Linked DNA regions of Homo sapiens: regions 1, 2, 4 and 5 are each linked to region 3. The links are contacts of gene promoters, found by promoter capture Hi-C in blood cells and fetal thymus (Javierre and others, 2016). All regions are on one chromosome and are shown on one strand. Each heading gives the region's core, a stretch centred on a gene start or on the middle of the fragment in contact. The rest is flanking DNA. Distances are from core to core; before and after follow the strand shown. Region 1 overlaps MIS18BP1 (MIS18 binding protein 1). Region 2 overlaps FANCM (FA complementation group M). Region 3 holds the start of PRPF39 (pre-mRNA processing factor 39). Region 4 overlaps TOGARAM1 (TOG array regulator of axonemal microtubules 1). Region 5 overlaps FANCM (FA complementation group M).

Evidence for each region. The method cuts DNA at HindIII sites, captures the fragments that hold promoters and counts their contacts. A CHiCAGO score of 5 or more calls a contact.
Region 1: a fragment that was not itself captured here is called in contact with the fragment with the promoter of PRPF39 in region 3 in 2 of 17 cell types (monocytes and total CD4 T cells); the score reaches 5.9 in monocytes.
Region 2: a fragment that was not itself captured here is called in contact with the fragment with the promoter of PRPF39 in region 3 in 9 of 17 cell types (monocytes, total B cells, total CD8 T cells and 6 more); the score reaches 8.7 in monocytes.
Region 4: a contact is called between a fragment that was not itself captured here and the fragment with the promoter of PRPF39 in region 3, in 5 of 17 cell types (activated CD4 T cells, total CD4 T cells, naive B cells and 2 more). The highest score is 7.4, in activated CD4 T cells.
Region 5: a fragment that was not itself captured here is called in contact with the fragment with the promoter of PRPF39 in region 3 in 2 of 17 cell types (monocytes and total CD8 T cells); the score reaches 7.9 in monocytes.

Annotation. Positions count from the first base shown.
Region 1 is chr14:45,202,237-45,207,668 of GRCh38, reverse strand. MIS18BP1 (MIS18 binding protein 1) reads left to right here. Exons shown (of 17, transcript NM_018353.5): 15 at 1,499-1,586; 16 at 3,216-3,270; 17 at 3,457-4,479. The coding sequence ends at 3,560. Among named protein-coding and RNA genes, the nearest start is that of MIS18BP1, 48 kb to the left of the region's middle. The HindIII fragment of the contact is 8,070 bases long and covers 1-5,432 here.
Region 2 is chr14:45,151,819-45,157,716 of GRCh38, reverse strand. FANCM (FA complementation group M) reads right to left here. Exons shown (of 23, transcript NM_020937.4): 6 at 3,665-3,797; 7 at 2,895-3,020; 8 at 2,258-2,344. Among named protein-coding and RNA genes, the nearest start is that of FANCM, 19 kb to the right of the region's middle. The HindIII fragment of the contact is 4,947 bases long and covers 285-5,231 here.
Region 3 is chr14:45,082,774-45,088,434 of GRCh38, reverse strand. PRPF39 (pre-mRNA processing factor 39) reads right to left here and starts at 4,319. Exons shown (of 14, transcript NM_017922.4): 1 at 4,186-4,319. PRPF39-DT (PRPF39 divergent transcript) reads left to right here and starts at 4,409. Exons shown (of 2, transcript NR_184211.1): 1 at 4,409-4,963; 2 at 5,048-5,387. It overlaps LOC124903416 (small nucleolar RNA SNORD58), which reads right to left and starts at 192; the gene lies at 127-192. RefSeq lists a silencer at 4,325-4,614. The HindIII fragment of the contact is 5,294 bases long and covers 1-4,641 here.
Region 4 is chr14:45,010,169-45,016,159 of GRCh38, reverse strand. TOGARAM1 (TOG array regulator of axonemal microtubules 1) reads right to left here. Exons shown (of 20, transcript NM_001308120.2): 7 at 4,085-4,185. Among named protein-coding and RNA genes, the nearest start is that of TOGARAM1, 51 kb to the right of the region's middle. The HindIII fragment of the contact is 9,107 bases long and covers 1-5,991 here.
Region 5 is chr14:45,183,801-45,188,138 of GRCh38, reverse strand. FANCM (FA complementation group M) reads right to left here. Exons shown (of 23, transcript NM_020937.4): 17 at 4,237-4,338; 18 at 2,766-2,922; 19 at 252-358. Among named protein-coding and RNA genes, the nearest start is that of FANCM, 50 kb to the right of the region's middle. The HindIII fragment of the contact is 4,311 bases long and covers 933-4,338 here.

The DNA of each region.
Region 1 (5,432 bases), core at 1,645-4,144, 120 kb before region 3:
CCTGTTCATTTGTTTTTTGTTTGTTTGTGAGATGGAGTTGCTCAGGTTGGAGAGCAGTGGCACAATCTCGGCTCACTACCGCCTCCATCTACCAGGTTCAAGCAATTCTCATGCCTCAGCCTCCCAAGTAGCAGGGATTACAGGCGCATGCCACCGTGCCTGGCTAATTTTTGTATTTTTAGCAGAGATGGGGTTTCACCATGTTGGCCAGGCTGGTCTTGAACTCCTGACTTCAGGTAATCCGCCAGCCTCAGCCTCCCAAAGTGCTGGGATCACACCTGTTCATTTGTTAAGCAATTTGCTAAAAACTGACGAGGTTTATTCATTGCTATACAGCAGTGTTTGATTCAGATAAATATCTTAATAGAGTCACATTTCTTCATGTCATGCCTTTAAGGTTGTTCCCAAATAGTCATAAAGAACAGAGGATACTCAGGTATGTAAGATCTTAGAGCCAAGAGAGAGTATGGAAATGGATGTTCAGCTGGTATTTACTGTCATAAGTGGGATTAGGAATTGTGGGTTTAGGGAATTAAAAACAACCAACAATTCTACTTGGCTTTTAATCTCTTCAGTTATGAGTGAAGCATATTTGCTTGTAAGGGAAGAGATAAGGTAAAGGAAATGAAATAAAGAAAAAAAATTTGGTGGTTGGTATGGGGAATTCAAGAAAGATAAAATTTTGTAGAAATAAAAGGCTTGATGAGCTGGATTAGAAACCCAGCACAGTTGGAAAAATTGACAGTTTTCAATCACCAGGCATATCTTTAAAGTGAATAAACTGAGATTCAATTAGGACAGGGAAGGAAGTGAACAGGAGAGATAATGGTATAGCAAAAGGGAGTCCAAGGAGAAGAAGTCTCAGTGGGAGTTTTGGAAAACCAAGAGAGGCAGCAAGATACCGGAAAGAGCGTAGACGGTACAATGAACGGTAAGCAAAGCATAATTTCCCAAAATAGTCTTGATCAGTATTTCCTGTAAAATGTTTGATTTAAGCATTTTGTCCATCTCCATAGGCACATTTTATTGTCCTCTTTAAAATACAGAATGTACTTTTTAAAGATGGAAATACGTTTGAGGTCAGGCGTGGTGGCTCACGACTGTCATCCCAACACTTTGGGAGGCCCAGGAGGGCAGATTGCTTGATGAGCTCAGTAGTTTGAAACCAGCCTGGGCAATGTGGTGAAACCCTGTCTCTTAAGAAAAATACAAAGATTAGCCAGGCATGATGGCACGTGCCTGTAGTCCAAGCTACTTGGGAGGCTGAGTTGGGAGGATCACTTGAGCCCAGGAGGTTGAGGCTGCAGTGAGCCATTATCATGTTACTGCACTCCAGCCTGGGCGACAGAGTGAGACCCTGTTTCAAAAAAAGAAATACATTTGAAATTAATTTAGGCAATTGTTGTTCAACCTGTGGTTAAAAGTATGACAGTTAACTTAAAATTATTAGGTTGACTTAAAAATATTGTTGACTTAAAATTATTTCGTATTCAAACAGGAATGACTGTGATAAATATGTTTTTCGTATGCAAAAATATCATAAAAGTAATGGTGGTATTGTCTGGGGCAACATCAAGAAAAAATTAGTAAGTATTTTTCTTTATCCAATACATATCTATGAAACAACTTTAATATGTGATAAACTGTGGTAGTTGTAAGTCATGTAACAGTCCCTGTCCCTGAGGTGATTATAATGTAACAAGTTACAATAATGAAGCCATGAATGAGGTAAGCACATAAGTACTGTAGGATTACAGATGGCATCACATTGACTGAAACATTGGAGCAAGGGGAAAATGGCTAAAAACTTTGATTTTTGGGAAATGAAGGGTGGGAAAAATATACACAGAGGTCTGGGAAGGATATTTCAGGCAAAACACAAAAACACAAAACACAAAAACAATCCTGTTCAAGGATTGAAGAATAATTCAGACTGAGTCACAATTCTCATAAAGTAAGAAATTTCATCAAATTCTATGTAGCTTTAAAATGGCTTCAGGTGTTTTTCAGATTTAGCTACTTAATTTTATTTTTTTACTTTTTATTTTTTTACATTCTAACATTTAAAATCCAACTACAGAAAAATTTTTAACTGAAAGATGCCTTAATAGAATGATCTATATCCCTTAGAGAAAAGATTAGGACAGTCCTTTATCCCCTTGAATTACTTTTTAAATTTTTAATTTTCTGATTTTAATTGCAATAACTGATTATCATATATAAGTACTAGGATTCTGGAAAAAGTATTTCATCTCAAATTTCCTCTAAGTAGCTAATCTTCGAGAATGGTAACTTATGGGAACCCCCTTGATTCCCTTGCTTTATGACACTGAGCAAGTTACTTGAGCTTTCTAATACCATTTTATTCATGTGTGGTATGACAATGGGGATCATGATTATATTGATTTATGTTACCAAATGATTTTGAGGTCTAAATGATATAATGCAGTGTTTTACCTCATCTCAGAAAAAAATACATTTATATCACAGTCTGTGAGCATGAATTTGTATCTCAAAAATTTCTTAAAACAGTACTTACTCTAAGGGCTACTATATTTTCTGTTCTGTTACTTTTTATTTTTAAAAGATTTTTAAGGATTGCCAGCCATGGCCAATAGTTTGATAAGCATTGTAATGTGTGTGAGCATGTACTTCAAACTTGCCATTTACTTTACCATTTTAGCCAAGAATTTCAAGTACAGAGAATTAAAATTCTGCTGGTATAAAACATTGTACTGTTATAATAACAGACTGTAGGTAAAAGTAATACAGTAATTAGTATTCTGTATAGTAATTACTATACTGTAATAGTACAGTATAGTATTGTAATTATAATTACTATATATAATCATGATAAATTGTGTTTATATTTTAAGTTTACCAAACCAGTATATTCATTACTTAATTACTTAGCACATTTTGGCAACTTTTGGAGGCCCATAGACTATCCTTTAACTGCTATAGCATTAGTTTATAATAATTTCTTAGAGGAGTGTTTGCCAGCACTGGGAAACAACATTGAGTAAGTCATGGTTCTTGCCCTGGATAAACCCAAAAGAGAATTATGCATTTCACAGATAATTATAATGTGATTAAATGTTGTTATAGGCATATGTTCAAAGTAATCTGGGGATAAGCATGCTTAATTTTGTCTAGATTTGAGGTAGACTTCACCAGGAGGTACCATTTAGCTATTAATAGTAACTCTTTTATAGGTTGAAACTGATTTCTCAACTCCAACACCAAGAAGGAAAACCCCATTTAACACAGGTAATACACTTACAGCTTTCTTTTGTGGCTCAGTTCTATTATAAGGTAGGTTCTTTATTTAAATGGTATTAAAATTAATTGCTCTCAAGTGGACAGACTTAGCATTTTATTCCTTATAGTTGTTTTCAGTTTTATTGAAAGTACTTTTAGAAATTTATTATCTTTTTATTAAACTTCTCTTTACAGACTTAGGAGAAAACTCTGGTATTGGAAAACTTTTCACTAATGCTGTGGAATCTTTAGATGAAGAAGAGAAAGATTATTATTTTTCGAACTCTGATTCTGCATAGTAAAATGAGAAAATATGATTCCTGGGATTTTTACCATAAAGCAGACAGTGTTTGTATTTTCAACTGGAGTACATGTATTTTCTTTGTAAAGTAGCTTCCTATGAAAATGTGGACTTTTTTGAAGGTTTCATATGTTTGTGTTCAAAGTAAAATATCCTCATTGCTGCAGCTTACTAAAAATGTAAAGAAAATTGTTTTTGCTCGTGTAGATATCTGTAAATTTGTTTTTGCATATTAAAATATATATAGATAATTTTTTAATAAGCATCCAAGTCTGTTTACTTTAAGAAAACCATTTCCCAAACAGATTTTTTTTTATTTCAAGAAAATTTTGCTACCATTTAAGTAAGAGAAGGTGAGAAGGATGACAGAGGTTGTATTGGTAGCTATTGAATTCATGAAAACTTTTAAGTTAGCATTTGTTAGCAGTTATTATCCAAGCCAGAGTAGGATTTGTTACCAGTTGTTATCCAAACCTAATGTTTAAATTACACATTGTTGAAATTAAATTACACATTGTTGACATGCTTCTCTCCTGATTGTTTTTATTTTAAACTTGTGATAGGCATATCTATGAAACCTTTGTAAATTTAGTTTATTGCTTTACCATTATTTTACTAGGTAAAATTAGAGAACAGATTTTGTTCTCTAATTTTTAAGCCTTATTTACATATGCAGAAACAGCTTAAATATTTTGACTAGATTAGACAAACAGTTAATAGATCCACCATTAGGAATCAATATATTATGTCATAATAAACATCCTTTTTCTTTCACTGAAATTTCTTTTAGAAATAAACTTATTTTTGCTTGTTATGTTTTGAAACTTGACATAGGATATTTTCCCTCTGGCTACACATTCACCTACCCTTGTTCTCTATTTAGATTATTCAAATAAAGTTAGTTTGCTTTTATAGTATTTGTTTCTTGTTTTTTGTTTGTTACTAATTACTGGATGATAGAAATAAAAACAAATCATGACTGGTCCTGTTTAAGTTTCCTCAAAAAAAAAAAAAATGATTAATAACATTTTCTTGTTTCTTAAGTGTTTTAGTCAGAGCAGGCATGGTGTCATGTATCTGTAGTCTCAACTACCTGGGAGGCTGAGGAAGGAGGATAGCTTGAGCCCAGGAGTTCAAGGCTGAACTGTGCTATGATCATGCCTGCAACTGGCCACTGCACCCTAGCCTGGGTAACAGAGACTCCTTTTAAAATAAATAAATAAATAAAATAAAATAGTAATAATCAGCAGTTATATAATTATAGGACTTACGGAAACACTGTAAAAAGAACAGTGCAATTGGACTAAGATAATTCTTTCTTTAAACTACCATGATTATTTCTGCCATAAAGACCCTTGGTGGATATAGAATGGATCAAAAGAAAGGGTTATTTTGGAGTGGCCAAAAAAAATGCCGTTGCAGAACTTGAGTTGCCAATATTTGATCTAATGCTATACTGCTTGAAGTTAATGGATAGTGTTTTAGGAGTTAAGAAAGTGGTTAAATCCCTTAACAAAAAGTAAAAAGGTAATTGAAATGGCATAAACTTGAGTTTGACCCCTACTGCCCATATATCCGTATCAGAACTTCAGCGCCTTCCCTATACTAAGGTATCTCACCGGCCAGGTACCTGGCTTGTCCTATTTCTATCAGGTCATAAGATGAACTAATGATAAGGTTTAAGGTAAGTAACCCCCAAAGGAAACTTAAAAGTGGAAAAGAAAAAAGACCTTAAGGACTTAAATAATAAGATGGATAATGAATGGTTAATGGCTACCAATGAGGATATAGGAGGAGGCTATTGCAAGCCTAAATATGGATAGAGCTCTCCATACAGCAAGCATAAATAAATGAAATCCTCTAGGTTATG
Region 2 (5,898 bases), core at 1,509-4,008, 71 kb before region 3:
CTTCTTTTGAATCATCATTGCATCAAGCATCAAGTCTCTGTATGTGACCAGCTCCTGAATGAATTGCTACTTTCATCACAAAACCTGTATCTCCTTCAATCTGTCACAGCCTGCCTTTTTACCCTCATTCCACTAAAGCTCCTTTCAGCAAAATCATCAATAACTTCCATACTGCCAAGTTCAATCGACACTTTTTAGTTTAACACACTTTCCTCTTTCCTTCTGAAATAGTCTCTTTCTTCAGCTTCTCTAACATTTTACTTGTCCAGTTTCCTCCCCAAGCTTTTTTTCCTCCAAACTCTTAACTGTTGATATTCTTCAGGACTCCATTCTGGACCCTCCTCTGTATATCTCTAAACTGTTGTCCTGATAATCACATCTATTCCTGAAACTTTAAATATTACCTTTATGCTGATAACTCCAAAATGTATTCACATATATGTAAATATGTAAAAACAGCAGCAATCATTCTTCTGAGATCCAGATTTGGTTATCTAATGCCTACTTGACACTTAGGTGTCTCAAAAACATCTTAACATGTTTGCTCTTTCTTTTGTTATTCTTTTTTTTAATTGACAAATAAAAGTTGTATATATTTATGTTGTACAATATGTTTTGAGATGTCTATATACATTGTGAAATGGCTAAATCAAGCTAATTAACATACATATTACCTCACATACTTATCTCTATTCTTCATTTTTCACTTTGCTCATGTAATCATTTGCAAACATGTACACATAAATGTATATACCCAGCCATATGATTCCTTTTTTCCTTTTTTTTTTTTTTTTTTTTTTGAGACAGAGTCTCACTCTTTTGCCAGGCTGCAGTGCAGTGGCGCAATCTTGGCTTACCGCAACCTCCGTCTCCCAGGTTCAAGAGATTCTCCTGCCTCAGCCTCCCGAGTAGCTGAGACTACAGGCACATACCACCACACTCAGCTAATTTTTGTATTTTTAGTAGAGACGGGGTTTCACCATGTTGGCCAGGATGGTTTTGATTTCTTGACCTCGTGATCTGCCCACCTCGGCCTCTCACAGTGCTGGGATTACAGGTGTGAGCCACTGCACCTGGCCAATTCCCTTTTTCTTATACCATACGTCTAATCCATCAACAAATACAATAAATAAGTTGGCTCCAATTTGAACATATATCTAGAATCTATCTCCCAGCACCTTGACCACTATTGCCTTGATGAACACCACTATTATGTGTCATCATCCAAGACTATCGTAATACTTTTCTAGGTTATCAATGTCTATGCTCCACAAAACTACCAGAGTGATCCTTAAAATGTCATGTCATTCCACTGCTACAAATACCTCTGTTTGGTTTTGCAAAGCACAAATATTCAGAAATTAAAAACTAAAGTCTGATATTATCTGCATACCTCTCATCTATACCACTTGTAGGCTCAGTCATACTTGTAGCCTCAATCTAACCACACTGGTCTGTTTAATCACACCAAGCACCCTACTGCCACCTCAAGGCCTTTGAATCTGCTATTTTTACTGCTTGGAATTATCTCTCCCCCAGCCTCCAAAACTCACAAGGCTTCCTCCCTTATCTCCATCATCACTTTAAATATCCCTCTACAGAGAAGTCTTCTATAACCATGCTATATAAAACAGCACTCCTCTATAACTCTCTCTCTCCTAATCTACTTTACTCTTTTACTGGTACTATATATTGTTTTACTCTCCACTTCCCTTATATTACCCCATGCTAACTTATATAGTACCTTATTCTTAACATTCCCACCACCACCCTTGCCCTAGCCCTTCCAAAATTTCTCACAGCTTTTTAGTATTCATTATCCAGAGTTAATTAAAAGCCCACCTTCTCCATAAGAAATGTTAGAATAAACTAATAGGTTGAAGGTTTTTCTTTGTTTGTTTTATTTTCGAGATTATTTATTTCAAGTTTTGCTCTTATAGCCCAGGCTGGAGTGCAATGGCACAATCTCGGCTCACTGCAACCTTCACCTCCCAGGTTCAAGCGATTCTCCTACCTCAGCCTCCCAAGTAGCTGGGATTACAAGCATGTGCCACCATGCCTGGCTAATTTTTGCATTTTTAGTAGAGACGGGGTTTTACCATGTTGGTCAGGCTGGTCTTGAACTCCTGACCTCCCGTGATCCTCGGCCTCCCAAAGTGCTGGGATTACAGGTGTGAACCACTGCACCCAGCCATAAGTAAAGTTTTACCTCTTGCAATAACTTTGTCTTGCCTTAAAGCTACTAAATATGACCTACCATTCCATGACTTGAAGTGTTCAATTACAACTTCTTCTAATTTCTTTAACTTTGGATGACTATAAACAAATTTTTTATTTTTATCTCCTGGAACAAAACAAAAATATCAAAATTTTTTTCTGTTTTTTTCCATATTCAATTACACTAATGTATATGAAAGTTATCTTTTCCAATGCATATGTTGGATTTTTTTTTAATTTTTAAAAAACTTAAACCAGAGGTAACATCTAGGTAGCACGTAAGTCTTACTGTAAAATGAACTTTGAACTTTCATAAAAATTTCATTCTGAGAGAACCTAAAGAGGAATCAGTAGCAAAGAAAGCAAAAATACATATCTAACTATAAATCAGGTTTTGATAGTTCTGAGAATTTTTACTACCACTAACAATTACCAACATCTGTTATATGTTTAAAGTTTGTAAACTTGTTTGAAGAAGTTTAAACATTGTTTAAAGCATATAAACTTTAAATTTGAATATATATTAATCTTAAAAAATGAAATATTTACACATTTAACAGATCTGTTGCTACAAAATATAAATAATTGTAGACATTTGCATCAAAGGAGCAAAATTTCAAAATTAACTGTGATTAAGAAACACAACACAATACATAATTTTAAAAGAAAAACCAGACCTTGTTGGATAGCAGAAATACCATTTGCTGAAGTACTACGTGTACGTGCAAACATACACTCTAGATGATTATAGAGTTTCATGAAGTCTTCATTTCGGCCAAGTTCATTTTTTGACCGTGTCATCCCTTCAGAAATTAAGAAAAGGTTTTCAAATAAATAATAATAAAACTGATAAAATGTATTATTTATTAAAAAGAAATTAAACTTTAGCAATGAATGTAAGTTTTTCAAGTGTAAACATGAAAACCAGAAACTTTTTGCAGTTCTACATTCATATATGTATTAATGAATGGTTTCCTTTTCTCCAGGAATTTATTAAAAACAAAGAAACATGGCCATTTGTTAATTATTCCAATGCTTTTTAAAATAAATCATTTTTAAGTAATCCAAACTCTTTAATATGTCTTTTTTTTTTTTTTTTTTAAGACAGTCTCACTCTGTTGCCCAGGCTGAAGTGCAGCAGCATGATCTTGACTCAAGGCAACCTCTGCCTCTCGGGTTCAAGCGATTCTCCCGCCTCAGTCTCCTGAGTAGCTGGGATTACAGGCGTGCACCATCATACCCAGCTAATTTTTGTATTTTTATTAGAGACAGGGTTTCACCATGTTGGCCAGGCTGGTCTTGAACTCCTGACCTCAAGTGATCCACCCACCTCGGCTTCCCAAAGTGCTGGGATTACAGAAATGAGCCACTGTGCCCAGCCCTTCAATATGTCTTTAGCCAAAATAATACATGTCATTATTTCTTTAAATAATTTGATATAATTTACCTTTAGTTCCATCCATAATTCCACAAAGGAAGAAATATAATGATCTCATTCCCATTTGCTGCAATAATTCATAACCATGATATAAACTAATACAAATAGCAAACTCTCCCTCGATTATGCCTTGTTGTATTCCCTAGAAAAACAGCATATGTCAAATTTAACCAGAGAAATAAATGAACATACATGCTCCATGCCCAAGTTGTCAGGCCATAGTCAGTGTAACATTTATAATATAATCCAAATGATCATAATCATCATTCCCTTCTACACTGCTATAACCGATTGGTTATTAAATGTCATCTTATAGGATGTTGCTATGGAAAGGTACCAATGTATTTTGTATGTAAAATCTGCCCCTTTATTTCTTTTTCTTTAATTAAACAGGAAACTTACATTTTAAAAATAATAAGTAAAGGAAAAAAAAATTATATTGTTTTTCTTTACAGGTAAATTAATTGGCAGTATATAGATATATTTGTTCTTTCAAAACTATATAGTAAGCATCTACTACCTGTCAAGCACTGAGCTAGATACAATGGAAATGGGAAATAAGTTAGATATGGCCTATCCTCATGAATGTTACTGGCAAAAGTACAAATATTTAATCAGACTGTTTTAATGCCAACCTTTAATACCAAGTATACGTCCTGTGAAAATATCTGACACTGAGCCCCAGAAACTATTCTAAGCACATTACTTGCACAATTCACTTAATCTTAGTATCTAGCAGGTAGCTATGTTATGCTCATTTTATAGATGAGGAAGCTCATACAAATGTTAAGTAGCAGAACCACTATTTAGACCCAGGAATTTTGGCTAAGAGGCCTTGTGCTTTCAACCACTACTCTCATGGAAAAATGAAGGACACATTCCTTTATGGAAGTACATGGTATGTGTATCTATCTGATAAGATAGTTTTTAAGGAGAGCATGGAGAACATATTCTAATTATTTTCCTTTGAGATGAAGACTACTGTTTTCTAACATTTTTAGTAGCACTTAACATCAATGTTAGTGATTTTAAATATTCCAGGATACTAACAAATGCCCTAAAATGGTACCCTAATTACCTCTCACCAGTTCCAGTTAAGATCTAGTTCAACAGGTTTAGATTTACTATTTCCTAGCAGAAATCAAAACATCTTTTTAAAGTTTTAAATAATAATATACTATAATTTTGCAGAAAAGACTCCTTTAGTGCTTCCCCAGATACTATATGATAAAGACCACATTTCGTGGTATAATAGTTAAAGTTACTCTCATGTAGTCACAACCTATATTATCATATCCGGTTTCGTGGTATAATACTTAAAGCTACTCTCATGTAGTACAACCTATATTATCATATCCAGTTTCCAAATCCTCAGCCAAATTGGTCTGCTCACTGTCTCCCACATGCTTTAATTCAATTGCCTCTGTTCTTTTGCACAGGCATTCCCTATCAGTTCAAAGATCGACTCGGTGCCCTTTTTTGTGTCTATGAGTGTCTTCTCTGACTTTGGACCTAGTTTGATAGATATTTTTTTATCCATTTATTTTTTTCCAATGCAGGTTAGAAATAAGAAGCTTGCTGTGATGCTTCCTTCAAACTCTGGTATTGAGAGTAAGAATAAATGTTCTGTGTCTAAAATTCAGTTACAATCTACCTTCTCATGGCTTTGAGACTTTACAAAATAAATAGACTAAAAGACAAATTCTTCTTAAAAGTTAAAAAGAAAGGTTGGGCACTGTGGCTCACATCTGTAATCTTTGGGATTACACTCTGGGAGGCCGAGACAGGCAGATCACCTGAGGTCAGGAGGTCGAGACCAGCCCGGCCAACATGATGAAACCCTCTCTCTACTAAAAAATACAAAAATTAGCCAGGCGTGGTGATGCGTGCCTGTAGTCCCAGCTACTAGGGAGGCTGAGGCACAAGACTTGCTTGAACCTGAGAGGCAGAGGTTACAGTGAGCCAAGGTCACACCACTGCACACCGGCTTGGGCAATAGAGCGAAATTCTGTCTCAAAAAAAAAAAAAAGAAAAAGTTAAAAGGTAAAATTTATCCTAATTCAAATCATTACATTGTATTCTTGCAGATTTTTCTCATGCTTTTATAAACTATATAAACATTTCTGATTTTTTTTTTTTTTTTTTTTTTAAGACAGGTCTAACTCTGTCACCTAGGCTAGAATGCAATGCTGCAATCACAGCTCACTGCAGCCTCGACCACCCAGGCTCAAGCAATCCTACCC
Region 3 (5,661 bases), core at 3,070-5,569:
TGCAGTTTCTTCTACCTGAATGCTTCCTCATCCCTTTACCTGACACCACACTCTGACTCAGTGCCTTCAAACTAACTAAAGCCTAATCTTCTGGGCAAAGTTTGCTTTTTAATTTTTTTTTCAACAATTGCTCAGAGAGTAGTTGTTTTCATAATTAATCCAAAATTGTCCTAAGAAATGCCATCATCACAGTGGGCAAAGTTTAACATCATTTCCTGAAAAGTGTTATCATACCCCCCAAATAAATTAGGTTGCCCTCAATCATGCCCCAACAGCATTCTTTTTCTCCATAGCACATAACACATTTGTGATACTTGTTCAATGTGTATCTTCTCTACCAGATTACACAATTCTTGAGAGTAAGGACCATATCTACCAATACACAGGGATACAGTACACCTGGAGGCCTAGTATACACTCAATTCATTGAACAATAAACAAGTAACATTAGTCTTCAGTAACCCATACTAAAACCCAGTATATTGCTTTCATAACCAAATGGGAAGTGATAAGTACTTGGGTTTTAGAGGCCAGAAGAACACTTATGAGGCCGGGCGCAGTGGCTCACGCCTGTAATCCCAGCACTTTGGGAGGCTGAGGCGGGCGGATCATGAGGTCAGGAGATAGAGACCATCCTGTCTAACACGGTGAAATCCCGTCTCTACTAAAAATACAAAAAAAAAAAAAAAAAAAATTAGCCGGGCATGGTGACGGGCGCCTGTAGTCCCAGCTTCTCAGGAGGCTGAGGTAGGAGAATGGTGTGAACCCAGGAGGCGGAGGTTGCAGTGAGCCGAGATAGCGCCACTGCACTCCAGCCTGGGTGACAGAGCAAGGCTCCATCTCAAAAAAAACAAAACAAAACAAAAAAAAAACAGTCTTCTGGCTACTCATTAGGGAACTCTGAGCCAATTACTTAACCTCTCTAAGCCTCATTCACAAAATATTCAAACATACCTCGGTATAAAAATGAATGATCCCCTATCCCACGATGTATACAATTAAGATCTGTCCATCAAAAAAAATAATACACTCTGGGCCACCCATGCAGTGGCTCAAACCTGTAATCCCAGCACTTTGGAAGTCGAGGTGAGAGGACTGCTTGAGTCCAGGAGTTCGAGACCAGTCTGGGCAACATAGGGAAATGCTGTCTCTACAAAAAAATTTAAAAATTAGCTGGGTGTGGTGGCACGCACCTGTAGTCCCAGCAACTTGGGAAGCTGAGGCAGGAGGATCACCCAAGCCCCAGGAGGTGGAGGTTGCAGTGGGCTGACCATGTCAGTGCACTTCAACCTGGGCGACAGAGCGAAATAATACACCTTAAAAAATTAACTATCCCCTTCTTTCCATTCACACTACTAGTGTTATAATTTAAGTATTTATTTTCTCCCCTCTGGATCAATGTTTTCAAATGCAGATTGCTTCAAACCAGTTTCTCATTTTTTAAATGTAGAAAAACAGATATACCACAGTGAATGCACACATTAAGGGCACACTGTTGAAGCACACACAATTGAACTGTTTATTGAGTTAGTGATGTCCATGTACATCTTATTGTGGGCTGCAGTAAAAAAAAAAAAAAAAAAAAAAACTGAGAAACACTGCTGCACTACTGCAAACTAATATTACTCGAATATTAAATTTCCTGATCACAGCTCAACAAGAGTAAAAGGAAAAAAAAATTAAATTGGGTGAGAATGAGGCCTTATCAGTTTTGTTCACCGCTGTCCCCCTTGAACCTGAAATAATACTTGCCGTGTAACAGCACAACAAATATCTCTGAATGATATATCCAGTCTCAACTTAACTTTCCAAAAGTATTAATCTTACAATACTCCTCCTCATTGCCATTTCCAGAGTCCCTTAGATTTTTCCTTTCTGAGCCTTGACAAAAGCTGTTCCCCCAGACTAATAAAAGTCCTCCCTTTTTCAACTCACCAAACCAGTCGATTCCTTTTCACTACATTACACTTTATTATAAAATCATATGATAGGCACAAAGGACACAAGTATAAAATGAAACATAACATAAAGTGAATAGGCAATATATAAAAAATACATTTATCATACCTTTCACTTTTAGTATAATTATGACGTACATTAAGTATTTCAGTGACAATTATGCCATCTTAAAATTTAAAAGGTCTTTTGGAGGATGACTTCAATTACTAACACTTAATTAAAAATGGGACATTTGGGCCGGGCACGGTGGCTCATGCCTGTCATCTCAGCACTTTGGGAGGCCGAGGCAGGCAGATCACCTGAAGTCAGGAGTTCTAGACCAGCCTGGCTAACATGGTGAAACCCCGTTTCTACTAAAAATACAAAAAATTAGGCGTGGTGGCGCGCATCTGTAATCCCAGCTACTGGGGAGGCTGAGGCAGAAGAATGACTTGAACCCGGGAGGCGGAGGTTGCGGTGAGCCAATAGCGCCATTGCACTCCAGCCTGGGCAACGAGAGTGAAATGCCATCTTTTGACCTAATACCTTTTTTTTTTTTTCTGTATGCCTCTTATTCCTGTAGAGGTACTTAAAAATTATACCATTGACTATTCTTTTTCATAAACACAGCAATATATAAAAATCTGAAGTCATCACTAAAGACTGAAAGGAGTTTTGGGTAGAGCAAAACAAGTAGCTTTGCAATAAGCAAATCTCATCCACAAGGCAATCTGGAGATTTGGGATGTAAGAAGAAAAGAGACTATCATAACCACTGGTTTTGGCAGCTGTTTTTAAGGGCTAAGTAGTCACACGCCGACTTTTTAAAGTCTCTACATATTAAACACTGTGTTCCAGAAACTAGATTTTGTATATGTATTTACATAAACGTCTACATCAATCTTCGGCTTTTTGGAAAACGTACCATTTGGCTGGAACTACACTACCTTCTTCCTCCTTCGGCTATTTTTAATTTTTTTTGAAGTCCTATCTTCCATGTAGATTTGTTAAAACATACCACAGAAAACAGCACATACAATTTTTATCATTTGACTTTTAAACATCTTCTTTCTTATTCAATTATAAGCAAGGAAAAATATTCTGAGACTTTACACAAATAGTGTCTCATACCACCTATGAGCCATCTATGCTCAACCCCTACTTCAAAGTTCACAATCTAAGTACTAGTCCTCTTTAACAGAACTCCTTTCCATCACTTTATCCCTACTAGAGAGTGAACAGTGGAAAGTTCCAACTTTTGCAACTCTAGAATGAGGTTATAAATCTAGAGGGAGGAGGAAAACCTGACAGTAGACGCTTGTTCTTTTCACTCCATTCAAGCTCCCATACAGCCTAAAACACTTAAGTTTCAACATGAGCTTCATACGTCCCTGTCCAAAACTTGCTTTCTCAAGCCTCACGCTTTCCAGCTGTAGCAAAGTTTATTTCTGAACAGATTAAATCAGTTGCTAAATAATCTGAAGTCCTCAAACAGAAGGCCATATGAGTATCAAACGAAAAAAACAACATTTGAATCAGCATAAATTCACATGGTATTATGGCATCATTACTAATACACTGAGCAGTATTATTTATTAACTTCAAGTATTAATTAACTTAAAGATGTGATTTTGGAGAAAAACACCAGTGGTGGTCTCTGATTACCAAAGTTAAACATTCTTAAGCACAATCCCTTAAAAAATCCTGCCAGGATCAATGATGTGTTTTTTCTGTTTTAAAGTATCCTGCCAAAAGCTGTGGGTGCTGTGACTTAGGGTCGCAAAAGTGTTGCTTATGTAGTCAGAAGACAGAACGTGCCCTACAAGGCGCTCACATGCCTTAGTAATAGAACGTATATTATCTTCCCAATCCTCTGGCGGCTGCAAATGTGCTCCTTCCACTTCCAGCCACCCCAGCCGTGTTCCAGCTCCGGGAGAAGCAAGGGCTTTAGAATTACCCCCAAATATCTTCCTAAATCCAGGCGAAGGAGGCCCACACTTCTCCACCCTACCTAACGCACCCCTCAAGTGAAACGTTTGGTCTAAGAAAAAAATACCTTGCACCGCTCCACCCAACAGGTGGGAAGGAGAAAGGAATGGACAGCTGAGCGCTGAATCCGAGCCAGGCCTCAAACAGGGCGGGAGAGGGAGGCCGCGGCCAGAGCGCGGCCTGAAACCCGGCAGGCCCCTTTCAGTACCAAGTACCACCCTCTGCCCCAGCTAATTTCAAGGAGCCCGCCCCAGCAGACCTTATGATGGATGCCACTTGATGCCATGAGCCGGAGCCTGTGACGACCTAGCCGAAGATGGCACTTCACCGCCTCCGTCCCCACAGCCAGCACAGCAGCCGCCACCCGCGCCACGGCCGCCTGGTCCAGGGCACGATGCGCATGCGTCAGTGTCCCTGGAGGCGAAAAAGTCACGTGGGTTCGCAGCGCGCAGGCCTGGCCCTCCCAGGGATCCTCGCTGCCCGTGCGGCCCCAGCCCCGCCCCCGCAGCCCCGCCCCGCCCCGCCGCGAGCGAGGGCGGGGACCGCTGCGCCTACCTGCCTTTCCCTCCATAGGGACTTCCCAAAGGAAAGGAGGGCGTTTAGGGGCTTTCACACGCCTGATCTTAAACACAGCGCCCTGACCCCTCCCCACCAAAAACGGCAAAATGTCATTTTTGGGGGCAAATCTAAGGTTTTCCCTACAATTGTTCAAGCTTTCACACTAAAACATTTACCTAAAAACGGGCAGAAATTCAGCCTTAAACCCACAAATCTCACGATGGTATAGACCCTGGGCCCACTCAGGTTTCCTGAAAACTAAACAGTTCTGGAGTTAGGGGTTTGGAGAACGGGCTATTGTTAAAGAAAAAAGTATTTAGTGACACTTGTTAAAGCACAAAAAGAGGGCTTTATTCAGGACCATCGCAACAGGTATAGGGACCACTGACTGCAATGGAGACTTGCAGTAGGGAAAGAGATATTGGGCTCAACTCCTCATACAGCATGGGCAAGTGGAGATTTATAGCCAAGGAGCGGTGGTAAGTGAATGTATAATTACTAAGAGGAAACATCAGGGTAAGGGGGATTTTGGCTAAACCCACCTAATAGGATTTTTGCTGAAGACAGGCCAAGATAATGAGGCATCACCTGGGGGATGGTGGAGACTGAAGAACCTGATCAGATATTGAGGATGATCAGCTATCAAGGATGGGGGTTTATTGCTAATCTGACTTAGCAAAGTTCTTTGCTTAAACTGGATTTTACAAAGAAAGTGTACAGAAGAGCCTAGCAGAAGATTCAGAAACCTGACTAAAGTTGGCCAAGCAAAAAAAAAAATCTTTGTATCTGAAGGGATATGTTATCCTCTGGACAAATTGAGGGGGACTGTGCGTTAACAATCTTAGCAGTCCTCTTCAGTTGTACCACCATCTCCACTTTAATAAAAAAAAATTTTCTTTCAAATCTGGCCTCTCTCCCTTTAAGATTCTGTTACATTGGTGCCCCCGCATTCACCTGTCACTTACCATGTAATCTGTTGTTCCAGGTGCATTAGTATTACTACTGGGCTCCAAGTTCCTCATCTGAAATCTGTCTCCTCTGGAAATACTTATTTACAAGACGACGTTTCTTGTCACAACGCAGGTTAATCATAAATCCTCTCACCAGCACCTTTCGTTCGAAATACCAAATTCAGTCTTTTTTCCTACCTTTTACTTGCATCACACTGCACCTAGTA
Region 4 (5,991 bases), core at 1,891-4,390, 71 kb after region 3:
CCTACTAAAGTCCTGGGATTACAGGTGTCAGCCACTGTGCCTGGCCTGACAAGTATTTTTTTAAATTGACACCTTTAACTTTACACTAAAAAAAAAAAATTTTTTTTAATCCAGAATTTACAAACTGTGACCTAAGAGATAGCTATTTCCCCATTTCTCTCTTTTCTCCTATTCCCATGAAAAACGAAAAAACTGAAAACTGAGAATACTCAGTAATTTTTCTTTATTGGTATGCTTAGGGAAGATTCTGATTTAGAGATATTAAATCTTAAAAGTTAACTCACCATGAAATTTAACCTTCTGTACTGGCTTCACTGATGAGGCAGTAAACTACATAGGGATAAAGAGCTCAGTATCTGGAATCATGCTTCCTGGCTTTAAATTACAGCACTGCCACTCAAACTGCTGAGAAGACCTGGACAAGTCACTCAACCTTATTTGTAAAATAGAGATAATAGTACCTCTTCTACATCTGTTGTTAGGATTAAATGAAGAAAATGCATATAAAGGGCTCCGCACAGTGCCTAACACATTTTAAGTACCCAAATGTTATTATATCCGTAATTTAAAAAAAAAAAAAAGCAAAACCCTAATGTAGGTCTCCTTCTAATGAATAACAAAAATTTTAATTTACATTTGAATGTTTAAACTCATCACTCTTTATGAATACTCTGCAGCTATTACAACCATAAAACATATACTAAATGCAAAATCTAGGCATTATATATTTGAGTCATTGTCCATTTTTATATATACTTCCAATGTAAACTATTAAGCAATAATGATGTGTGTATATATGTATAAATATATTTATTTATTTATTTATTTATTTATTTATTTATTTATTTATTTTTTGAGATAGGCTCTTGCTCTGTCATCCAGGCTGGAATACATTGGCACTATCTTGGCTCTCTGCAGCTTCAACCTCCTGGGCTCTCCTGATTCTCCTGCCTCAGCCTCCTGAATAGCTGGGACTACAGGCGCACGCCACCATTCTCCGCTACTTTTTAATTTTTTTGATAGAGATTAGGTTTTGCTATGTTGCTCAGGCTGGTCCCAAACTCTCGGGCTCAAGTGATTCACCTGCCTCAGCCTCCCAAAGTGCTGGGATTAGAGGTGTGAGCCACTGTGCCCAGTGAAATAGACTTTTAAAAAATAATGTTGTATTTGAATAAAAACAGGAAGGTAGGAAGAGGAGGTAGCTGGGGCAACAAGCTAGAAAGGACTGTAGAATAAAGGGCACTAAGTAAGTTCACAGAGAAAAGTTTCAAGAATATCCAATATTAAATCATAGAGAATTTGTAGAAAACACAGATTATCTTTATAAATTCTGTCTTGATAGTTAATTCATAAAATAAGACTCATAAACATACTGGCTTTGGGTGGAAATGTTTTCTATTAATAGGCAACACTAATCTAATATACTAGAAGAAGTTTACTGTAATATCATTCAGAAAATTTAGCACAATTTGCTTTAATAGGTAGTGGCAGAACATAGGTGGAATTTTAAAATAATTGTTATTTTTGTGTTTATCATCCAATAGTCTTTATTCTGAGCGTTATCATTTTTATGTTTTACCAATTAAGCCACAATAAATTTGTAGGAATCACTTGTTTACTGAAAACAAAGCAAACCCAAATATATAAAATCCGAAACATTAGCAACTTATTTTGAGAAAAGGTTAAATTTAATATAATGAATTCAATAATAGTAGTATTTCTAAAACTTGATCCTAGAAATACCTAATTTACTTATTAAAAATACAGATTTCTAACCAGAAAGATGAATTCATGAGGCATGAGATGAGGCCCCAGAATTAACAGATGTTACATGCACTCAAGGGTGATTCCTAAAATTAGGCAACTTTGTTGGGAGGCCGAGGTGGGTGGATCATGACCATCCTGGCTAACATGGTGAAATCCTGTCTCTACTAAAAACACAAAAAATTAGCCAGGCGTAGTGGCAGGCGCCTGTAGTCCCAGCTACCTGGGAGGCTGAGGAAGGAAAATGGCATGAACCTGGGAGGCGGAGCTTGCAGTGAGCTGAGATTACGCCACTGCACTCTAGCCTCAGCGACAGAGCGAGACTCTTGTCTCAAAAAAAAAAAAAAAAAAAGATTACGCAACTTTGGAAAACACTAAATATTGCATATATAAGTATGTATTATACTATTATGAGATCACTCTGCTAAAACTTAAATGACTCCCAAGGTCACACGACTAGGGTCACAAGGGAACTCAAATCCAGGTTTTTAAAATCTATTATTTTCCATTTCCAAAGATACTCTTCCAAAAGTGGGTTCCATTTTTACAAAGTAGATACAATCTAGTAATCAGATGTCTCTTCAATTTTACAGAAATACTTGAAAAATTATAGATTAGGATGATCAGCCTGAAAAAGGATTAAGGATAAGTTTATGTATTTCTTTGGGTCACTCTCTCCCCTTAGAGGACAAATACATATTGAGTGCCTACTATGCACTAGTTGCTTTATATATGTCATGAACTTAGATTTTCACTACCCTTCTCAAGGTTTATGTTGTCAGATGAGGGAACTAAGTTCCAAAGCAGTTAAGTAAGTTGTGTAATGTATGAATACTATTATTAAACATCAAACTGGGGTGTCAGCTCATCTTTTGGACTCCAAAGCACTTATATACTGTCTTTGTATGCCTAGAAGTGCAGCTATCTCTTTGTTAACACTAGTTTTATGCAAGGCAGTATACTAAACACACCTGGTTAAGTCACACATTCCCGATTATGATAAGCCTTGATAGGTAATCAGTGGGAAATAATCTTTGGGGATCAAGAATCTGAGAGTTAAAGAAAAGTAAAGCAATTGTAGTATCATTATAAAAGGTGTCAGTGCAAGATGTAATGGTATAACAAAAGAGGTAATAATCTTGTTTGTGAATTAAGGAAGGCTTCCCAGAGAAAGCAACTGAGCTCTTTTCACAGCTAAATAGGGTGTGGTATGGATTCTAGATTTCATCCAGAAAAAACAGTATGTGCATTTGCAAAGAGATAGGAAATGGTACTGATGGTGGTCTGATTTAACTGGATACAAACAGGGAAAGTACAAGATACAAAGAGGGCAGTGAAAAATGAGGCTGGAGAGGTAGGCTGGGACCAGATCATGAAAGCATGTCCAGAATGAATTCAGGCTGGCCAGTATAGTCAGATTTGCACTGTGGGGAACAGTTTCAAAGTAAGTGAGATTGAAGCAGGGAGAAAATTTAGGCGGCTAAGTAGGTAATAAATGAGGAAAAGTGTGAACTAAAGCCATGGTAGTGGGGATTACAAAGAGGGGTTGAGATTAAGACACATTTAAGAGCAAGAAATTTAAAATCTTAGCAAATAATCAAATACATATACAGTTTTTTAGGAAGGTGATTATAATATAAAGCAGCTTAAAGTTGTTAGGACTTTTACATTAGATCATGTGAAACTAAACATCATATACCAATTTGTTACAGTTTATTCACAATTCAACGTAGTTTTACTAATCATAATGAAGAATCACATGCAGTTCTCACCCTAAATAGATCATAGTGCAAATCTTTTTCTAATTGACTACTAATTACTAAATCTATTTTCTGAGAAGTGATGTTATAAAACTAAAGACTTACAGGTTAGTTCACAAAAATTCTTAACACAAGATACACATGAATTTAACTACTATTAACAGTTAATATTGTTTTTAAAGAAAATTGTCTTTCGGGATGTCCAGTGGTTCCCAAACTATGCTGCACATTAGAATCATCTGAGGAGTTTTCAAAATTCTGACAGCCAACACCAGCTAAATAACACTCCACACCAACTACATAAAAAATCTAGGTGTAGGAGCCAGCCATAGGTATGCCAATTGAGCTTTAAAAGAGATTGATGATTCAGGTAAATAAATATTTTTTTCTTCCAAAACAATATCATATTCCTGTCAAAAGGACCTTTTAAGGAGTAAAAAAATGATTAGTCTTAACCAGTATGCACAACAACATGAAATCTGAAATGCACTTGCTATCATTTTTTACATCATTTGAAAATCATATTTTATAAATTATTTTTATAAACAGACATAGAATACCTGCACTGGGGCTTTGTTCAGCAATATGAGAAATTTTTTTCTTTGCAGAAGAAAGTCTTGTTGGACAAGGTTTTGACCCAAATGTTGGAAATATGTCTGACCTGCAATGAAACAAAGTAATTTCAATAAACATTAAGATTTAGTGCTGTTCAATACTCACATCACATATTGTCTATTCTCCTTATTAACTCACAGACCTTTTAGATAATAAGGGAGCAATAAGTATGACACTTGAAAAACTATGGCTAACAGTGTGTGTGTATACACACACACACACACACACACACACATATATATTTTGCTATTCTTAGTTCACCTTTTGGACTACCAACCTTTTTAACATATGGCCAATTCTTAATTACTCAAGACAGGATTGCCACAGAAAATGACTCTGACTTATACTGTATAATCCCTAAGGAAAAAAAAAAATGATCCAAGAATCCATTCTAAAACCAAATCAAGGCCAAGTGTGGTGACTCATGCCTGTAATCCTAGCATTTTGGGAGGCCAAGACAGGAGGATCACTTGAGCCCAGGAAGTTCAAGGCCAGCCTGGGCACCATCGCAAAACTCCATCTCTACAAAAAAACTAAAAAATTAACCAGGCATGGCGGTGCACACCTGTAGTCCCAGCTACTACAGAGGCCGAGGTGGGAGGATCACCTGAGCCCAGGAGGCAGGGGTTGCAGTGAGCTGAGATTGAACTACTACACTCCAGCCTGAGTGACACAGTGAGACCTTGTCTCAAAAAAATGAAAATAAATATAACAAGTCAAATCATTCTTAATTATCTAACTACTACCTATCCTTATATATGATAACACAAAAATACAGACTTGGCTATATTATAAGTAAGAGATCAGCAATGAGTAAGTTTGGTAAATGCCACTTTCTGCTTAGACTATTCTTTCCTGTACTTTCCTGACATTATAAATACCTATAGGCCTTTTTTCATTAAGAAAGCCAACTGAAGAATGTTAAATCTGAGCTTAAGGGAACTGTTTTAAATCAGTAAGTGTTACAATGTCAGTAAGTTAGTAATGAATATTAAAAAGAATAGATTTTACAAAGAAGTACAATTCTCAGTAAATGGAGAGAAATATATTTGTCAGTGGACCTAGTGAGAAATCAGTGTTAAATATTTTGAAAGAGCAATTTCTCTATAACAGATTATTATGAATCTACATTTATATTAAGTGTAGTTGACTTGGATGAAAGAAGAAATTTCAGTCTCTAGGAGGGTGGTTTTCAACAATTTTTCCTCCCCAACCCACCTAAGGACAAAATCTTTAAATCAGGTAGTAGTAGTGGCTTTCTTTGGCCATGAATCTTAAGGCAGTATGCAAGCTGGATAAGAATAATTGTTCTAAAGCCACTAATCTTAAATGTGGAAATCTTAAATTCATTAAAGGCATTTCAGTCCATAAATGAGGGTGTGCTGAACTACCTTCTAACAGAATTCAGTATCTGAAGAGAATAACTCAGTGAGAAAATACAGGACATCATGTATCCAAATCATATAAAATGAAATTTTCTTCTTAAGTAGGTTTCAAATTATTTACACAACCTTGCAACTGTAGGATTATAGAACATAAATTTTCATCTTCATGGAAGATCATAAAAGGACTTTAGCTCTAAAAGCTAAAAATATATTTTGTGTCTTATAACATTATGTAAACACCAGACCATGCTGTCATTCCAAATTCATTTTGCTAATATACCTATTATTCTACCTAGGTAATTACAACAAAGGAACTGTTGGAAGATAAAACTTCCAAGTACAAAACAAGCTGCTAAAAATGTATAGGAAAAAATAAGGGGCTGAAACAAACTTCTAAGAATGGAACACAAAAATTCAGTTTAATTCTATGAACTGCTGGAATAAAACATTATGATCTATTTAGAACA
Region 5 (4,338 bases), core at 1,839-4,338, 100 kb before region 3:
TTGAACTCCTGACCTCCGGTGATCTACCAGCATCGGCCTCCCAAAGTGCTGGGATTACAGGCGTGAGCCACCGCACATGGCCAAAAAGGGATCTTGAGAATCCATTTAGTCGAGCTTCCTGACTTTGGGCAGAAATGATCTCAAATAGCTCTGACAGCCCAGTTTTAGAAACAAAATGGAGGCTTCACTAACAGGAACATATTTCAACATCATCATCCAGAAATTCTCCATTATATTTCTATAGTTCATACCTGCGAGAAAATGTTTATGTTTTTATGTGTCTTATGAATCATTTTGTACTTATTGTTCATCATTGGACTACGCAAAGATTTCATGTAAATAGCTCTCATTTCAGAATCTGTGTAAAGATAAGAATTTAGATAAATTAGCAAAATTATTTAAATGAAAACCAGTAAAGTATTTAACTTCAATCTATTTCAAATTTACTTGATTCAAACCTTGTGCAAATATTTTACACAAAGACAATAAATATTAAAAGATATCTATAAACAATTATTCAAAAATATAAAGTTAGGAGTTTAGCCTTTGAAATCAGATTTTCTAGTTGAGTGATCATGGACAACTTAAGTTCCCTGCTTTATCTATCTCTCTGAAAATGAGGATTAAAATGGTGACTTTTCTTTCAAAACAAAGGTATACAAAGACCTTAAAACTGTACCAGATTTATAGAAGTTTCAAAAAAAATAAGAAATCTAGCCAGAAAAGCAAATATGCACTAAAAACATTAAAACCCACAGCCAATAAAAAGTATATTTCATAATTTTCAGTTAAGCAAAACCTGGGAAACACATTGGTTTTTTTTTATGGCTAGCATTTTTAAAAGTTATAATATAATGAAAGGTACTTGAGACATGATACATAAAAACAAAAGATAATGTGAATTTCGAGGTACTTTAAAAAAAAAAAAAGCTTTGAAATTGTACATAGTTCAAACATACTGTGTCTAAAATGGAATTTCAAACCTCTATAATCACCATCTAAATTGCTTCATCTGCAGCCTTCCCAATAACATAACAGCAAATATGTCCTTCTTGTTGCTCAAGCCTACTGACTCCTCCTTTTTTTCTAATCCATTGGAAAATCCTGTCAGCTTTATGTATCCAGAATCCAATCTTTCTCACTCTCCTCAGTGCTACTATCTTGGTAGAAGCCACTAGCATTCCTTGATTGGAGGACCTCAACAGTCTCCTAACTGGTCTCAGTCTACCTCTGTTCCCCTATAGGCCATTCTCAACACAGAAGCTGGAGAGATTCTACTAAATTATGTCAGATTATGATCTGGCTGCTAGTTCTCTGATCTTCCTACTACCTTCCCTTTTCCCTCATTCCAGTCACAACACTATTCCTTCAACAGGCCAGGCACACTACTGACTCGGGGCCTTTGCACTGGCTGTTGTCTTTGCATCAACATTCTTCCACTGGATTATATTGTAAACCTGCAAAACACTTCTGTTAATGAACATCAAGGACATAAAACCTTATCCTGCAAATTATACAAATTATATCAGCATTAAGGACAGTACTGAGAACATTGCCTTTTAAACACTTTTTTCTTAAAAGTCACGAACTTTGAGAAACTTTGTCACTTTAAATAATATCAGAGACTGCAAAAGCAGAATAAATGATGAGATCTGTGAAAGATTAGAATACTGAAGAGATATAGTCAGAATATTTCTCACTTCTGTTACAGCCAATCTGAACCATCTCCTCTAAATATATTGTATGTAAGATCCGTTCAAGCATTGGATGAACACACTGTTTTCTGAAAGTAAACTGCCCTTACATGGCAAATTTAATAAATTTAGCTTTGTATTGCAGTTGGTCTTAACAATCTACATCACTAAATCTCTCTTCTTCTAGTCTCTGATGATGTCACCTTCTCAATGAGGCCTCTTCCTAACTGCCTTATTTAAAATAACAGCTAGGCAGAGTGCAGTGGCTCACAGCTATAGACCCAGTACTTTGAGAGGCCAAGGTGAGAGGATTGCTTGAGGCCTGGAGTTGGAGACCAACCTGGGCAACATAGTGAGATTACATCTCTACAAAAGGCCAAAAAAATTAACTGGTCATGGTGGCACATGCCTGTAGTCCTATAGGAGGCTAAAGCAGGAGAATCTCCCGAGCCTAGGAGTTCAAGGCTGCAGTGAACTATGACTGCGCCACTGCACCCTACTCTGGGCAACAGAGTAAGACTCTGTCTCTAAAAAAATAAAACTAAAAAATAATACAATAAAATGGCAACTTGTCTGTTATTTATACCCTCAACCCCAGTTACTCCAAATTTTTCTCATCTTGGCCAACTTTTTTATTTTTCTGTAACTCTTTATCTTACAATAAACTAAATAATTTAGTTAGTATATATATTGTCTGTCTCTTTCCATTTGAATGTAGGCTTCATAAGAAGAAATTTTTTGTCTATTTTGTTCATTCATATATGGTTCTTAAATGCCTTACATAGTACTAGGCATGTAGCGGGCAATAAACACTTGTGAAATGAACATTTCACACTTGAGCAACCCAGGTCAATCTGAAGAGAAATATTCAAATTAGCAGAAGCCTATGAACAATCAGTCTAAAATAAAGCAAGTATTAAAGAATTTGAATGAAAATGACCAAATAAATATTTTGCACGTACCACATTTAATTACCTTTAAGGTCTAGTTTCATTAAAAACTGATTAAAATATTTAAATATAAGCACATAAAAACATTGAAAAAAATTTTAAGGATCATTATAACATTTACCATTTATAGCCTGTGAAAGTTGAGTTTCATCATTTAAAAAGTCAAGTAATGAGGAATCTTGTTCATTTTCTGACTCATCATTTTCATCTGATGAAACATATTCTGCATCTTCTTCAGAAAGTTCTGCTTCATCATCTAAAAACTTCCTAGCTACATGCTAAGTAAGACAAATTAGAAAACATGAAGATATCAGTGAGAAAATAATTTTCTTTCATGATTGGAAATAATTCTGGAAAACTGATTTCTTATCAATGCTTTTAAGATTAATAAAATAATAAAAACAAAATTTCTAGGCCCAGTGCAGTGATGCATGTCTGTAATCCCAGCACTATGGGAGGCCGAAGCAGGTGGATCACCTGAGGTCAGGAGTTCAAGGCCAGCCTGACTAACATGGTGAAACCCCATCTTTACAAAATACAAAAAAAAAAAAAAATTGGCAGGGTGTGGTGGCGCATGCCTGTAATCCCAGCTACTCGGGAAGCTGAGGCAGGAGAATCACTTGAACCTGGGAGGTGAAGGTTGCAGTGAGCTGAGATGGTGCCACTGCACTCCAGTCTGTGGCAGTAACAGCGAAACTCTGTCTAAAAAAAAAAAAAAGAAAATCCCAAGAAGAAATGATAAAGTTACCTATCTATTTAAAAATTCTGATAATTCTGTCATAAAATAAAGTAAAAGTTGGTATATTTGCTTGATCTTTTTTTTTTTTTTTTTTTGAGACAGAGTCTCACTTTGTTGCCCAGGCGGGAGTGCAGTGGCGCAATCTTGGCTCACTGCAACCTCCGCTTCCTGGTTCAAGAGATTTTCCTGCCTCAGCCTCCCGAGTAGCTGGGATTACAGGCATGTGCCATCACGCCCAGCTAATTTTTGTATTTTTAGTAGAGACAGGGTTTCACCATGTTGGCCAGGCTGGTCTCAAACTCCTGATCTCAGGTGATCCACCTGGCTCAGCCTCCCAAAGTGCTGGGATTACAGGCGTGAGCCACCGCGCCCAGCCTGCTTGATGTTTCTTAATAAGCATAAAATTTCCTGAGTCTTTCCAGCTCTTTCAAGAAAATTACTGCACCACAAAAGAACTTAATCAGAAAGGAAAGGTACTGAGAACATTTTCCAAGTATTTGAAAATTGGATACAAATAAGAAAAACAATATAATGATCATAAAAGCAAACATCTTAAAACTCAAATTTCTAATTCTATATTTTCTTCAATTTGAAACATAAATTCTCAATACACTTGAGTTTTTTGGTATTCATTCAAAGTAACACAACACTGCAAGATAAAGCATCAAAACACAAAGATAAACAAAAAAAAACTACTTTGAATTTAATTCCAGTAAAAAAAATCTAAATGGGTGTCAAAATACTTAATTTTTTTCTATAAAGAGAATGTATAGAGAAATCTACATTGATGTAAAACCAATTATCTTTACTGATAAAATGCATACATATTTAAAGAAACTAAAAAAAAGATTACCTTTAAGTGACTCTGTCTCTTTGGGACTTTGATGCCTCTTCTGGCATTCCCGTTACAAACCTTGAAGTCTTCTAATTGTGAACATGGTTTGGGAAAATTCTC